Linked DNA regions of Homo sapiens: all the other regions are linked to region 3. Evidence: promoter capture Hi-C in 16 types of primary human blood cells and fetal thymus (Javierre and others, 2016). All regions are on one chromosome and are shown on one strand. Each heading gives the region's core, a stretch centred on a gene start or on the middle of the fragment in contact. The rest is flanking DNA. Distances are from core to core; before and after follow the strand shown. Region 1 holds the start of BTN2A1 (butyrophilin subfamily 2 member A1). Region 2 holds the start of H1-6 (H1.6 linker histone, cluster member). Region 3 overlaps LOC105374986 (a long non-coding RNA gene).

The links. Contacts are between HindIII fragments. The CHiCAGO score rates a contact against its expected background, and 5 or more counts as called.
Region 1: the fragment with the promoter of BTN2A1 here is called in contact with a fragment that was not itself captured in region 3 in 3 of 17 cell types (total B cells, naive B cells and total CD8 T cells); the score reaches 5.3 in total B cells.
Region 2: a contact is called between the fragment with the promoter of H1-6 here and a fragment that was not itself captured in region 3, in 1 of 17 cell types (monocytes). The highest score is 5.3, in monocytes.

Annotation. Positions count from the first base shown.
Region 1 is chr6:26,456,581-26,459,280 of GRCh38, reverse strand. BTN2A1 (butyrophilin subfamily 2 member A1) reads right to left here and starts at 1,326. Exons shown (of 8, transcript NM_007049.5): 1 at 1,139-1,326; 2 at 563-674. The coding sequence starts at 644. RefSeq lists enhancers at 1,136-1,295, 1,456-1,715. The HindIII fragment of the contact is 11,033 bases long and covers 1-2,700 here.
Region 2 is chr6:26,106,776-26,109,475 of GRCh38, reverse strand. H1-6 (H1.6 linker histone, cluster member) reads left to right here and starts at 1,341. Exons shown (of 1, transcript NM_005323.4): 1 at 1,341-2,064. The coding sequence starts at 1,383. The coding sequence ends at 2,006. The HindIII fragment of the contact is 5,524 bases long and covers 1-1,714 here.
Region 3 is chr6:26,261,653-26,264,352 of GRCh38, reverse strand. LOC105374986 (a long non-coding RNA gene) reads right to left here. Exons shown (of 3, transcript XR_926613.3): 3 at 2,425-2,700. Among named protein-coding and RNA genes, the nearest start is that of H3C8, 8.4 kb to the left of the region's middle. The HindIII fragment of the contact is 3,420 bases long and covers 1-2,700 here.

The sequences.
Region 1 (2,700 bases), core at 77-2,576, 190 kb before region 3:
ATGAAGGAAACCCTGAGGAACCTGCCCTGAGCACCCTCTGTCCACCCTGTGCCCTTGAGGGGATTTTCCTCGATTTCCCAATCTAGTGCTGTGCCTGAGTGTACTGTAAACTTGAGCCGTGCAATAGGACACATATCCACTAGCTAGTTCCAACTGAAATGAGCTGTAAGTGTAAAATACACACAGGATTATGAAGATTTAAAATTTCAAAATGTTGACTATCTCATTGGTAATATGGTATATTAACTAAGTATTTAAATATTCGTATTTGATTATTTGGGGCGAAACAAAATATAGTATACAAATTTATTTCATGTTTCTTTTTACTTTTTAAAATAAAAAGTAAAATTTAATTTTTTTTGAAAATTTGCAATTGTACATGCACTCGGCCTTTGTGCCTCACTGTATTCCTTTTGGACAGTGCTGGTATAAATTCAATGAACATGTTCAGAATGAAAGGGTAAGTCAACAACTCCACAGTCCTTCTTTCTTTCCCTTTGCAGACTACAGGGTTGATGTTCCTTTCTGATAGGTGACAGCAGCAAGTGGCACACATCCCTACCTGAGACCAGTGCACACAGGCTGAGGAGGAGGAGGAGGAGGGAGGCTGGCCGGGAGAAGTGCAGGGCAGCAGCTGATTCCATGAGCACCCAGAGCAGGCAGGGACAGGAGGCCTAGGGTTACAGAGGAGAATCAGCCTAGGAGTCTTGGCACCTCAGTGCTGGTCGGGCCCAACCTCTCCCGTCACTCAAGTAGGTCTCATCAGTGCCCCAACTTCAGGGAGTCCCCTGCATCCGAAGGCTCAGGTATGTCCCGAGAGAGGGATTCCTTAAACATTCCATGAAGTAAGCCATCAATGCCAAGATCAAGGGGGCCTTTTTCCGCCCTCCTCGGCTCACTTCTCTGGCCAGAATGCAGTTTCTTCAGTTGTCGCTGGATTCTACCACACCCTCCTCCCTTCACTTCCTCCTCCCCGCGACCCAGGCCGGGCAGCCTGAGGCAAAGACAGGCGAGGCCGCGCCTCCCCACCGGTGGGCTTTCCCTGTCCCAGGACCCCGTCTCGTGTCCACAGCAGACCCCGCTTCCCCCACCTACTGTGCCCACCCCGGAGCTGTAGCGCCTCCCCTCCGTTTCCTACCTTCTAGAATTAAACGTTGCTTTTTCTTTTCTCCGCTGGTTCTCGACGATTCTCCAGTCGTCCCTCTTCTCTCCAATCTGCCCAGGGGCACAGGCACTACTAGACACAAACCTTCCCAAAAGAGGAGAAAAAATTGTTCTTCCCCTTCTCCTAGGTCGCCATGTTTGGAGATGCAGGAAACGAAATCTGGTCTCCTGGGCTTCCACAGTCCCAAGAGTTCCCTAAGTATTTTAGAGCCCAGGATTGGCCGGGTGTGAGTGAACCAGCCAATGGTGTCGAACCTTATTTCTCAGCAGTTGCTGGGTAGAATACACCGAATCACAAATTTCAAGCAGCAAATAACCTTTTGAGATTATCGGGTCTTTTTATTTCCTTTTTCTTTGTTCGAAAGCAAGACTCTCTCTCTCTCTCTTTCTCTCTCAAGACTCTCTCTCTCTCTCTCGCTTTGAGATTCCTTGGGGAGATTCCCTGGGGTTTGTCACTGAGGTCGGTGGCTTTGCTGGTGTCCACAAGGAGAGGCCTCTCTATGTAGAGGGCAATTTTGCTGGGGAGGAAACATGAGCAGGAAAACGTAAGCCGCCCCCTTTCCAAAGCCAGAGGACTCCTGTTCAAGTTGCTGGCTTTGGAGGTTGGGCCTGGAGCGCAGGAGGGCTTGGGGGAAGCTGGCATGGCTGGAGCGGGAGGGGTAGCAAAGGAAAGGAGACAGCAGTTGCAGTGGCTGTTATGAAGGCCTTGCCATTCATTCCAAAGCTATCGGATAAGAGGTGCTGAGAATCCTGACTGAGGATCAAAAACCTTTTCCCTCAGGGAGGTGGCATTCTGGTGGTGGCAGAAGATGGAATTGAGCAAAACTTTCTAGTTGTCCTTCACCTTCTAGATAGTAGGTGGTCAGGTTGGGTCCAAGAGCCACACACAGACACACACACTAGCACACATACCATCCTCCCGTAAACATCATCCCTCTCCCAAAGGCTCCAATCTTGTAATTGTAAAGATATCTTCCAGAATAATCTTCCCGAGGCCCAGTTGTCAATATTCCCCTCAAGTGTCTAAATGCTTAGTCTGGAGGCCTCCAATTCCCTTCTGATTCAATTCAAAACTTTGCAGTTAATACGCTAGCAATGGCTCCACAGTGGCCTTGCATCACAACGTTGCACTCCCTGTGGCCAGTGCTCCTTTTCCCATGCCATGGCTTTCATTTCAATTGCTTGCTCCATCTCTGCCCCGTGAAATCCTGCCCAGCCTTCGTGCCTACTTCCTCCAAGAACAACTCTGAATGTTCCTGCCTGAAGTGTTCTCGGCCTCTTCTGACACCCAAATCTTTTGCTGTTCCCACGTCCTGTCTTGTATTATTGTTACTCAGGTATCCACTGTGTCTCTGCTGTGACAGGAGTACCTGCTTCTCAGGACAGACTTCTGCAGGATGTGATTCCTCTCACCTTACAGGGCCCAGCTCTAAGCTCTAAGCTCTGCTCTTAGCTGTTGTTCAATGCATGAGTGACATGCTCAGGGTAAGGTCATTCCCACCACATCATGGCCCAGTTCCTGGAGTCATTTGGCAC
Region 2 (2,700 bases), core at 92-2,591, 150 kb after region 3:
TGGAGTTTTCCTTTGCTGAGACCCTATGCTCTGGCCACACTAAACTCATTCAGCATCCCAGAAAGGCCTCAGCCTTTGTGAGCAAGCTCTTATCTCCAGGCCTCTCACAAAGACCTGTTCCAGTAGAAGCTCAGGGGAGCACACTGGACATTATTCCAACAACCCTTTCCCCACAGCTATGCAGCCAAATCTGCCAGCTCAGTTAATTAATTAAGCAATTCAGAGATGAGGGTCTGCCCAGGCTGGAGTGCAGTAGCTGCGACCTCAAGCTCCTGGGCTCTAAGTGATCCTCTTCAGTCTACCCAGAAGCTGGGACTGCAGGCATGTGCCACCACACCCAGCTAATTTTTTTTTTTTTCAGTAGGGACCAGGCCAACCTAGTCTTGAACTCCTGGCCTCCAGCCTTCCGAAGTGCTGTAATTACAGGCATGAATCACTGCGCCCAGCCAACCCGCCCAGTCTTGTTAGACATGGGGTCTGTAGTTTCTAGTAGGTTCTTGAGTCTAGGGTTCCTACCTCATGTTTTATAGTTAATTTAGGGGAGGGACTGTGTCTGTTTATCTGGGGATGTAGGGGTGGGCAGGGGGATAGAGGGGACTTCAATTAATGAAACCAGAAGCAAAACTCAGTTGAGGACACCGGTCATGAGAGTGGCCTGATTATGGCCAATCTTACATAATGTGTGAGATCTTGATATTACCCCATCCTTGAGAGTCCTCTATAAAGCTACAGGGACTTGGGAGCACCTTTAATTACAGACAACCCATGTTCCTGTGGATTATGATTTATTAGATTGCACATGCCTAAATAAAGACATCCTCTGCAGTCTTTTGACAATTCTATAAGCATCTTCTGACTCCGCAATTAGACAGCTAAGAGATCTGTGTTACTTCCCTCACATATATAAATAATTTTAAATAAAAATCATGGCGTGAATAATTTCTTTCCTCTACCGATTTGAAGCTATCCATTTGGAAGACCACTCTGAAGAGATGAAATAAGTCTTCTGCCAAAGATTACTTATTAATTTACAAGGAAAAGGGGAAGTTTTGTTCCTCTCCGTGAATTTGATTGAAAATCGAGGGCTTTCTCGAATAGTTTTGGCATCCAGGGTCATTTTTCATTAAAAAGAGAAAAGTCATGTCAAATATGAATTTCCGCAGATTATTCAGCACTAGACCCTGGGAGATTCTGTAAAGAGGGGTTTTGTTATACTCAACTTTTCCGGGTAAAACAAACACAAATACTCCTCCTCCAAGGGGCGGGGGCGGTGCCTAGGTGATGCACCAATCACAGCGCGCCCTACCCTATATAAGGCCCCGAGGCCGCCCGGGTGTTTCATGCTTTTCGCTGGTTATTACATCTTGCGTTTCTCTGTTGTTATGTCTGAAACCGTGCCTGCAGCTTCTGCCAGTGCTGGTGTAGCCGCTATGGAGAAACTTCCAACCAAGAAGCGAGGGAGGAAGCCGGCTGGCTTGATAAGTGCAAGTCGCAAAGTGCCGAACCTCTCTGTGTCCAAGTTGATCACCGAGGCCCTTTCAGTGTCACAGGAACGAGTAGGTATGTCTTTGGTTGCGCTCAAGAAGGCATTGGCCGCTGCTGGCTACGACGTAGAGAAGAATAACAGCCGCATCAAACTGTCCCTCAAGAGCTTAGTGAACAAGGGAATCCTGGTGCAAACCAGGGGTACTGGTGCTTCCGGTTCCTTTAAGCTTAGTAAGAAGGTGATTCCTAAATCTACCAGAAGCAAGGCTAAAAAGTCAGTTTCTGCCAAGACCAAGAAGCTGGTTTTATCCAGGGACTCCAAGTCACCAAAGACTGCTAAAACCAATAAGAGAGCCAAGAAGCCGAGAGCGACAACTCCTAAAACTGTTAGGAGCGGGAGAAAGGCTAAAGGAGCCAAGGGTAAGCAACAGCAGAAGAGCCCAGTGAAGGCAAGGGCTTCGAAGTCAAAATTGACCCAACATCATGAAGTTAATGTTAGAAAGGCCACATCTAAGAAGTAAAGAGCTTTCCGGGAGGCCAATTTGGAAAGAACCCAAAGGCTCTTTTAAGAGCCACCCACATTATTTTAAGATGGCGTAACACTGGAAACAAGTTTCTGTGACAGTTATCTATAGGTTTAAGTTGTGATGCAGCTGAGTTGAAAAGGCTTGAGATTGGAGAATTAATTCAGGCCAGGCTTCAAGACCATCCTGGGCAACATAGCCAGACTACCATCTATACCAGGGGTCCTCATTTCCCCGGCCACCGACCGGTAACCGGTCCCTGTCCATGGCACGTTATGAATTGAGCCGCACAGCTGAGGGGTGAGCGAACATTAACCAACTGAGCTCCACCGCCTGTCAGGTTAGCTGCAGCATTAGATAGATTCTCATAAGCTCAAACTGTATTGTGAATGGCACATGCAAGGGATCTAGGTTTCAGGCTCCTTGTGACAATCTAATGCCTGATGATCTGAGGTTGGAGCAGTTTTAGTCCGGAAATCATTGCTCCCAGCCCCTGCACCCCCTGGTCCGTGGTATAATTGTCTTACACAAAACGGTCTCTTGTGTCAAAAAGGTTGGAGACTACTGGTTTTACAAAAAAGTAAATTAGTCAAGCATGGTTGGCACGCTCCCTTAGTCCCTGCACCCAGGCGTTTAAGGATACAGTGAGCTATGATGGTGCTACCTCACTCCAGCCTGGGTGACAGCGAGT
Region 3 (2,700 bases), core at 85-2,584:
GTTTCGTTCTTGTTGCCCAGGCTGGAGTGCAATGGCACGATCTCGGCTCTCTGCAACCTCCGCCTCCCGGGTTCAAGTGATTCTCCTGCCTCAGCCTCCTGAGTAGCTGGGATTACAGGCATGTGCCACAATGTCCAGCTAATTTTTGTATCTTTAGTAGAGATGGGGTTTTGCCATGTTAGTCAGGCTTGTTTCCAACTCCTGACCTCAGGTGATCCACCCACCTTGGCCTCCCAAAGTGCTGGGATTACAGGAGTGAGCCACCGCGCCCTGCCTTCTTTTTTTTTTTTTTTTTTTTTTGAGACAGAGTCTCACTCTGTTGCCCAGGCTGGAGTGCAGTGGCAGGATCTCGGCTCACTGTAACCTCCGCCTCCCAGGTTCAAGCACTTCTCCCTGCCTCAGCCTCCCAAGTAGCTGGGAATACAGGTGCCTGCACGCCTGGCTAAGTTTTGTATTTTTTTTTTTAGTAGAGATGTGGTTTCGCCATGTTGGCCAGGTTGGTCTTGAACTCCTGACCTCAGGTGATCTCCCCACCTTGGCCTCCCAACGTGCTGGGATTACAGGCATGAGCCACTGAACCCGGCCTGATTCATACATTTTAATTTTTCAAACGTGTTGCTCCAGATACCCAAGGACATTCAGTTAAGACAGTGAATCAAGAGGCAGGGGCAGGAAAAGATAAGCAATGAGTGCTAACCCCATGGAAGACTGCTCGCCTTATTCAAGGATACCAGTAGTTAAGGAAAGAGTATTATTATATGATAATTTATTTAAAATAAAAAATAAGAGATCTGCAAAATTGCTATCATTTTACTTTTCACATGAAAGAAACCAATGTAATCTTTACAAGGCTTTATATGCTGTAACATTTTCTGAGATTTCATTATACTAGATATCTACGGATGAGCTCCAAAGTACAAAGAAAACTGCTCCTACTAGCAACAGAACTCCACATTAAAATTTCTATAATGGTTATAATGTGATGGCCGAATCCATAATAAAACAAAATTAAATTATGATGAAGATGATACATGTTCCCAGCTACTGATTTTGAGCCCTAGATAAACCTTGACAAAAAATTGAGAGATCACATTTCTTCTTAATCCTTCATATTGAGTGAGACTATTGTCCGATATGAGATCCAGGGATTTTATTTATGATTATAACTGTCAAAAATGGACTATCAATTACTTTCACTTTTTTGGTTAAGTGCAGTTAGAGGAAAAAAGACATATCTGGTGTCTTACAAAATTTACCCAGATTATTCTACGAGACTTTTGGGGAGCAATGTCAATATTATAGAGTCTCTGTTTTCTCCTTGAGCTTTTCTTTTCTTATTTTTCTTTTCTCTTTTCTTTTCCTTTTCTTTTTCTTTTTTTTTTCTTTGAGACAGTCTTGCTCTGTTATCCAGGCTGGACTGCAGTGGCATGATCCTAGCTCACTGAAGTCTCAAACTCCTTGCCTCAAGCAATCTTCCCACCTCTCTCTCCCAAAGTGTTGGATTACAGGCATGAGCCATCACCCCCGGCCGCCTTACTGATTTTATTTAATTTTTTTTTCTTTAAATATAGAGATGAGGTCTCGTTATATTACCCAGGCTGGTCTTGAACTCCTGGGCTCAAGTGATCCTCCTGCCTCAGCATCCCAAAGTGCTGCAATTATAGATGTGAGTCACCGCATCCAACCCTCCTTATGCTTTTCTAATGGAGGACCCAAGAGGCAACATATCCAATGAAACTACCTCATCCTTATGGTCACATCCACATTTGAAAGATCACTAGGCTGTGGACAGAAGTTCTACTGCTGATAGATGTGAATATAGCTTCCTCTCCTCTGGTTAACTCTTAAGAAGTCCACATTTTGCTTTGTTTCTCTCCATGAAATCTTATGTTTCTTTTACAGATGAAGTGTTTTGACCTGAAGATTCATCCAGCAACAAGTGAATGCATTTCCTTTTAGAAATTAAGAATCTAGACCCTTCTTTGGTGCAGAGCATACTAGTTAAGATAAATACAAGTTTATTTTCTGCGGATATGAGGTTCAAAAAGGGTATTCTAGATCAGCAGGTCCCTCTTTCTTCTAGCAGTGGTTCTGGAACCTAGATGCCCTCTGTCTTTGTGGCTTAGCCATCCTAAATGTGGCTTCTACATTTGCCCTGCAAGGGGAAAGAACATGGAAAAATCCTTCGTGGAAAGTTATTATGTCCCAGGCCTGGAAATGTCAATCTTTACTTGTGTTTATGTTCCATTGGCAGGAACTTAGCTAAAAGGCCACACCTAACTGGAAGAGAAGTTGAAAATAGAGGTTTCAACGTGGGCCCCAAAGAAGAAAAAGGTTAAATTAATGACCAGAATTAATAAAAGGCATATGAAATTATTAACGTGTACACTGCAGAGGGGGGTGGATAGAGTGATCACCCAATACTGCAATTGGACATAGATGTTTATTCTACTTCCTAGGGAAATGGGAGCTTGAGAAGTGTTTTTAGGGATATAATAAATGATTTGTAGGGGAATTCAATGGGCTTGAAGAACATGCAAGGGCCTGGGACAATGTCTGTTAGGGCTGCAGAGTAGACAGTGGTTTGTGACAAAATCTATCTAGGTTTGTTGACAGGCTTGTGTTTCTCCCTGTGATATTAGTTCATTTAATGAAAACTCAGAGTAGAGACTAAAGATAATTGTATTCTTTGGCAGGTTT